2 separate regions of the Homo sapiens genome follow, and region 1 is linked to region 2. Evidence: promoter capture Hi-C in human tissues and cell types (Jung and others, 2019). All regions are on one chromosome and are shown on one strand. Each heading gives the region's core, a stretch centred on a gene start or on the middle of the fragment in contact. The rest is flanking DNA. Distances are from core to core; before and after follow the strand shown. Region 1 has its middle 13 kb from the start of IQGAP1. Region 2 holds the start of FES (FES proto-oncogene, tyrosine kinase).

Region 1 (3,084 bases), core at 142-2,641, 510 kb after region 2:
AGTATTCAAACTGCATTGGACCCAAAGCCCACATATGTGAACGCTATTCTCCACTAATGCACATGAGGACCTAGAGGGCTGAGTTGAAAGATTTGTGAGGCCACATCCACCAAAGAATGTGATGGACATAGACCTGACAAAGCACTCTCAAGAAGCTTTCAGACATCAAGATAGAGATCTAGGAGCACAGATAAGAGAACAGTTGATGGGTCGGGTGCGGTGGCTCAGGCCTGTAATCCTAACACTTTGGGAGGCTGAGGCGGGCAGATCATGAGGTCAAGAGATGGAGACCATCCTCGTTAACACGGTGAAACCCGTCTCTATTAAAAATACACAAATTAGCTGCGCCAGGTAGCAGGTGCCTGTAGTCCCAGCTACTCGGGAGGCTGAGGCGGGAGAATGGCGTGAACCCAGGAGGCGGAGGTTGCAGTGAGCCGAGATCACGCCACTGCACTCCAGCCTGAACGACAGAGCGAGACTCCGTCTCAAAAAAAAAAAAAAAAAAAGACTTTGCAGGGAAGACCTATGAAAAGGGTGAGAAAGGGCACAAGTTGCAGTAACAGTGTAAACAAAGCCAGAAAAATTGCAAAGGTGTGTGCGTGTGTGATCATGCCCTGATTCTTGTATAGTTAATTTCACCCCAGGCTTCTCAAACAGCACAGCCACATGATGTTTCAAAAAGTCCAAGTGGAACCTCTTCGGAAAGATGCCCCACCATTGGCAGAGGCTGTGACCTTTTTCCTCAGGTACCAGGGGTTGCTACATGGGGAATGGGTGGACACTGGGCTGTAAATACTGCGTCTGGAATTTATTCCTTTTGGTGGATGCTTGGTCTCGCTGACTTCAAGAATGAAACCACGGACCTTCACGGTGAGCGTTACAGCTCTTAAAGATGGTGTGTCCGGAGTTTGTTCCTTCAGATGTTCAGATGTGTCCGGAGTTTCTTCCTTCCAGTGGGTTCGTGGTCTCACTGACTTCAGGAGTGAAGCCGCACACCTTCGCAGTGAGTGTTACAGCTCTTAAAGGTGGCTCATCTGGAGTTGTTTGTTCCTCCCGGTGGGTTTGTGGTCTTGCTGACTTCAGGAATGCAGCCGCAGACCCTCGCATTGAGTGTTACAGCTCATGAAGGTAGTGCGGACCCAGAGTGAGCAGCAGCAAGATTTACTGTGAAGAGCGAAAGAACAAAGCTTCCACAGCATGGAAGGGCACCCGAGTGGGTTGCCTGCTGCTGGCTTCGCTGGCCAGCTTTTATTGCCTTATTTGGCCCCACCCACATCCTGCTGATTAGTCCATTTTACAGAGTGCTGACTGGTGCGTTTACAGTCCTTTAGCTAGACACAGAGTGCTGATTGGTGCGTTTTTACAGTGTGCTGATTGGTGCATTTACAATACTTTAGCTAGACAAAGAGTGCTGATTGGTGCGTTTTTAATCCTCTAGCTAGACAGAAAAGTTTTCCAAGTCCCCACCCAACCTAGAAGCCCAGCTGGCTTCACCTCTCAATACCTTCTTTCTTTATCACTCCTCATTTTCTTTACGACTGATATTTGGGTGGTAGAAAGCTCACATCCTTTATGGAAAGTCACCTTCCTATAAGCTCCTCTGGAAGTAGAGTACAGAAAAATCTAACTAGGCCTCTCATGAGATTACAAGCAATGAGTGACATTTCTACTACAACTTATAATGCCAGTGCAGGGCAAGGTAGAAACTGCAAGACTTCAGTCACTATTCAGTTATGTAAAGACTAACACGTGGGCACAGTGGCTCACGCCTGTAATCCTAGCACTTTGGGAGGCCATGGCAGGAAGATTGCTTGAGCCCAGCAGTTGGATACCAGCCTGTGCAACATGGTGAGACACCATCTCTACAAAAAATAAAAAAAATTAGCTGGGCGTAGTGGTGCATGCCTGTGGCCCCAGCTACTGGGGAGGCTGAGGTGGGAAGATCACTTGAGCTGGGGAGGTCGAGGCTGCAGGGAGCTGTGATTGCACCACTGCGTTCCAGCCTGGGAGACAGAGCAAGAACTTGTCTCAAAAGAAAAAAAAAAAAAGAGCTAGACAAGGTGGCTCACTCCTGTAATCTCAGCACTTTGAGAGGCCGAGGCAGGTGGAACCCCTCAGGTCAGGAGGTCCAAACCAGTGTAGCCAACATGGTGAAATTCTGTCTCTACTAAAAATACAAAAATTAGCCAGGCATGGTGGCATGCATCTGTAGTCCCAGCTATTTGGGAAGCTGAGGCAGGAGAATTGCTTGAACCCGGGAGGCGGAGCTTGCAGCGAGCCAAGATCACACCACTGCACTCCAGCCTGGGCAACAGAGCAAGACTCTGTCTCAAAAAAATTTTAAAAAAATTAAAAAAAAAGACTAACACAGGAAAAAACGGGAGAGACATATAGCTATGGAGCAATGTTCCTCCCTAAGACTCCAGTCAGTTCATTGACACATGTCCAGTTTGAATTTTTTTTTTTTTTTAAAAGAAAGGCCAGGTTGTACCACCTTCCTTACAATACAGAAACAAGCTCTCTCAACCACAAGCATCAATGACATTATCCAGTTTCGTGGAATCACTGGCAATGCCCCCATGTATCAGAATGTCTTCTGTGGCTGAATTTACATGTGAAGGTTAATTAAACAAAGCTTTATTTCAGTATCATGGCTTGTTTGCATTTACTCATTCATGTACCAACTGGCATAAGTGATACCTCCTCCAGGGAGCCTTCCTTGACTCTCAAGATAGCCCTTCTCTGGCTGACATATACTTCTTGTATTGAAACTATGTGTCTGGGCCGGGCATGGTGGCTCACACCTGTAATCCCAGCACTTTGGGAGGCCGAGGCAGGCGGATCACCTGAGTTCAGGAGTTTGAGACCAGCCTGGCCAACATGGCAAAAGCCTGTCTCTACTAAAAATACAAAAATTAGGTGGGTGTGGTGGCGCATTACTGTAATCCCAGCTACTGGGGAGTCAGAGGCAGGAGAATCGCTTGAACCCAGGAGGTGGAGGTTGTGGTGAGCTGAGATCACCTCACTGCATTCCGGCCTGAAGGACAGAGTGAGACTCTGTCTCAAAAAAAAAAAAAAAAAGAA
Region 2 (3,044 bases), core at 6-2,505:
CAGCTCAACGTAGGGGAAGGAAGAGAGGAAGCTGCATCAAGGTTAGAGCAAGCCAGGCCTGCGGTCAGGGACTTACACTTCCCCAGTGAATCCAGGGCCTCTTGTGCAAAACAACCCCTTCGAGGCTCAAAATTTAGACAGAAATGACCGAAGCCCCAGTGCTGCCCGCTCACCTTGGTGAGCTCCTGCTGCAGCTGCTGCCACTGCTCGCTGTAGGTCTTGCGAAGCTGCTGCCGTTCCCGGATGAGCAGGCTCAGCTTGCTCAGGGGCCCTGAGTTCAGATCCTCTGCGTGCTGCCGCAGCAAGCGGCTCAGGCCCTCAGTTTGGCTGGTGATCTCAGCCCAGGACTATACAGCACAGATGGGGGAGGCAGGGAGGGGGGCACAATGGCTCCCAAGCATTGGCCTGCCAGATCTCCAGCCACTGCCCCAGAGGGCCCCCAGGAGAGGAAGGAGAAGGCAGATACAGCCAGCACCCACCAGAGTCCCATAGAGACCCACCTGACTGATGGGGCTGTCAGGGCTGATGGCCCGGCTCTGGCCCCCACTGTCCTGCAGGGACATGTGGTGAAGCAGTCCTGCATACTCCCTGTCACTCTTGACCCGCTGGGCCATCCACTTTCTCATGCCCTCCAGTAGACGAAGCTCGGCCTCCTGCATTTGCTGCAGGACCCCGTGGCCCTGGGGGCTGCACAGCTCGGAAGAGAAGCCCATAGTGCTGTTCTGGGGACAGAAAAGGGGCCATCCCTGGAGGCAAGGCAGCAGCTGGAGACGGAGGCATGGGACGAGGAGACTGGGGACTGTAGGGTCAGGATGGACTGCAGACGGGGAGGAGGTGGGGTCCTGCCTCGCTCACACGCAGCCATGGGTACCCAGCAGCAGCCTGGCCTGGGGACTGGCCCTCATTGCTTCCTTAGCGTCAGGGTCTCCTCCGCACGTTCGGGAACAGGAGCCAACCTGGAGCCTCCCTCCCCAGGCCCTTCCACCCACCACCCCTTACAGGGACACCCTTGCCCAGGTCCTCGACAGGCCAAGCCTGCCCCAGCTGAAGCCTCAGGCGCCCACAGCCTGAGCCCTGCCCCTGCGGCCATCCCCGCCCTTCCGCGGCCCCTACCCCCACCTGGGTGGGTCTCTGGCCCTCGGAACGCCTGCTCTGCCCCTGCCTGCCGCGCCCCCAGCTCCCACCGCTCCTCCAGGCCCCGGGGCTAGAGGTACCCGCACGGGCAGCTGCTCCTGGGACGGCCTCGGACCGACTCAGGCCCGGTGCGGACCCCGGCCAGTTCCTGATTCCGCGCTTCCTCCTCCCGCGGTTTCAGTTGGCCCAGGCCCCGGGGCGGGCCTGTGGAGGGGAAGGGGCGGGCGGGACCGGCCCGACCGCCCCGACGCCTGCCAGCCCCCCTGCTCCGCGCTGGGCCGCAGCCTCTAGCCGGCCGCACGGCCACGGAAACGGAAGGGAGGAGGGGGCCGGGAAAGAATGGCCCAGCCAAGAGCCGCCCGCGCCCCGCAGGCCCCAGGGCCCGGCAGCGCCCCGGGAACACCGGGAAGGGGCGCAAGGTGGGGGTCAGGAGGGGGAGCCCAGGGCGAGGCCCCAGGCAGATGCTGGGCCCAGGGAAGCCCAGGGTGTCCGCGGGTACTGAGGGGAGGCGCGCAGTCCTAGCACCAGGCCAGGGCCACCGCAGAAGAGAAAGAGGGAACCCTGGTCCCAGCCCTCCCCACCTCACGGAATTCCCTAAGGAGAGGCTCAGGCGCCAGCTTCCATTTGAATAAAATTTCCAAGTAAATATCCCGAACAGAGACTGCTTCTCGGATACAGATCCTAGTGGTTTTGTCCCCATCCTCCTACCCCCAGGCAGGGGCTTCCTGTCCCAAGGGAGACCTGGGGAAATCAAGGGGCAGGGGTTGGGGAGCGGACAGGCGTGGAGTTTTCCATTTGGGACTCAGGCTCCCCACAAGAAGTCATCTTGATTCAGTCAGGCCTCCCTCCACCTTAGGCCTCAGCCCTATAGCCTGTGGCGACCAGATCACTTCAGCCCAGGAAGACACAATAGGCCCAGTTCTTCACACTGCTGGAAACCAGGACTTTGGGAGTTTAGTGCTCAGCTCCTGAGGACCAGGGGTCACCAGCCCCACCCCAGGGGCACCAGCTCCTCCACTAGGGGCTGGCGCATCCTCCCGCCCCTTGGAGGACTTTGGCCTTCTGACTTGGGCCCACATCCAGGCAGGCAGGCCACTGTGTAGGCCTAACTGGCCCCCTATCCTCAGCTGCGATGCAGGAGCAACGGTACCACACTGGAGACTGGGCCTGGTTTGCATAGTCTGCACGTTTAATCACTTTAAAACCTCTAACATTATCTCATGTCCATTAAATAGAACCAGCAATGCTGGGCCTGTTTAAATTACAAGAAAAAAATCACTGTGCACCAACCCAGCATCTTACAAAACCAGCCGGGCTGGCCACGAGGGCAGGGGGATGGGAGAGGAGGGGGCACCCCTGGGCAGATGGCTGGGTACCAGGAATGGCTAGGGTAGAAAAGAAAAGGGGACTCCCAGATGGGAGGGGACTGATTGTCCTAATGGGAGGGGTGCAAAAGGCACGTCAGAAGAGGAGGTTTGAGGGGGGCATGACAGGTCAGTGCTTTCTCCACCAGGGCACAGTGTTGGGGGGGCTCAGTGCCACCACCTGCCCACCTCTGGCACTTGGAGAGCCAGTGACCTATGAACCCCCGGCATGGCGAGCCCCACTTGAAACACAGATGTCAGCCTGCCCCTCCCACTGGGACCCCCTTTCCTTGAGCCCGCCTGGCTGGCCCGCCTCTTCAGGACTTGGGGCTCAACTATTCCTCACTCCTCAGCAACATGCTGCAGCCCCCACACCTCAGGGCCAGGGCAGCCAGGGAGGAGCAGGGCGGACGGTGGGTGTGAGAACGTGGGTAGTCCAGCTGCTACCCCCATTAAAAATACAAAAACAAATCATCAGCATCTAAAGTGAAATAATCACAAAGTGAAAATATATCCTCAAACAGCCCCTGAGATCCCCACAGGGGA

Evidence for each region. Contacts are between HindIII fragments. The study calls those that stand out against the background at their distance.
Region 1: a contact is called between a fragment that was not itself captured here and the fragment with the promoter of FES in region 2, in 2 of the 25 tissues and cell types used here (dorsolateral prefrontal cortex and stomach).

Annotation. Positions count from the first base shown.
Region 1 is chr15:90,373,546-90,376,629 of GRCh38, reverse strand. No RefSeq gene overlaps it. Among named protein-coding and RNA genes, the nearest start is that of IQGAP1, 13 kb to the left of the region's middle. The HindIII fragment of the contact is 3,327 bases long and covers 1-3,054 here.
Region 2 is chr15:90,882,715-90,885,758 of GRCh38, reverse strand. It overlaps FES (FES proto-oncogene, tyrosine kinase), which reads right to left and starts at 1,255. Exons shown (of 19, transcript NM_002005.4): 1 at 1,215-1,255; 2 at 501-722; 3 at 174-347. The coding sequence starts at 713. It overlaps FURIN (furin, paired basic amino acid cleaving enzyme), which reads right to left. Exons shown (of 16, transcript NM_002569.4): 16 at 2,302-3,044. RefSeq lists enhancers at 110-539, 2,077-2,206 and a silencer at 1,170-1,679. The HindIII fragment of the contact is 25,407 bases long and covers 1-3,044 here.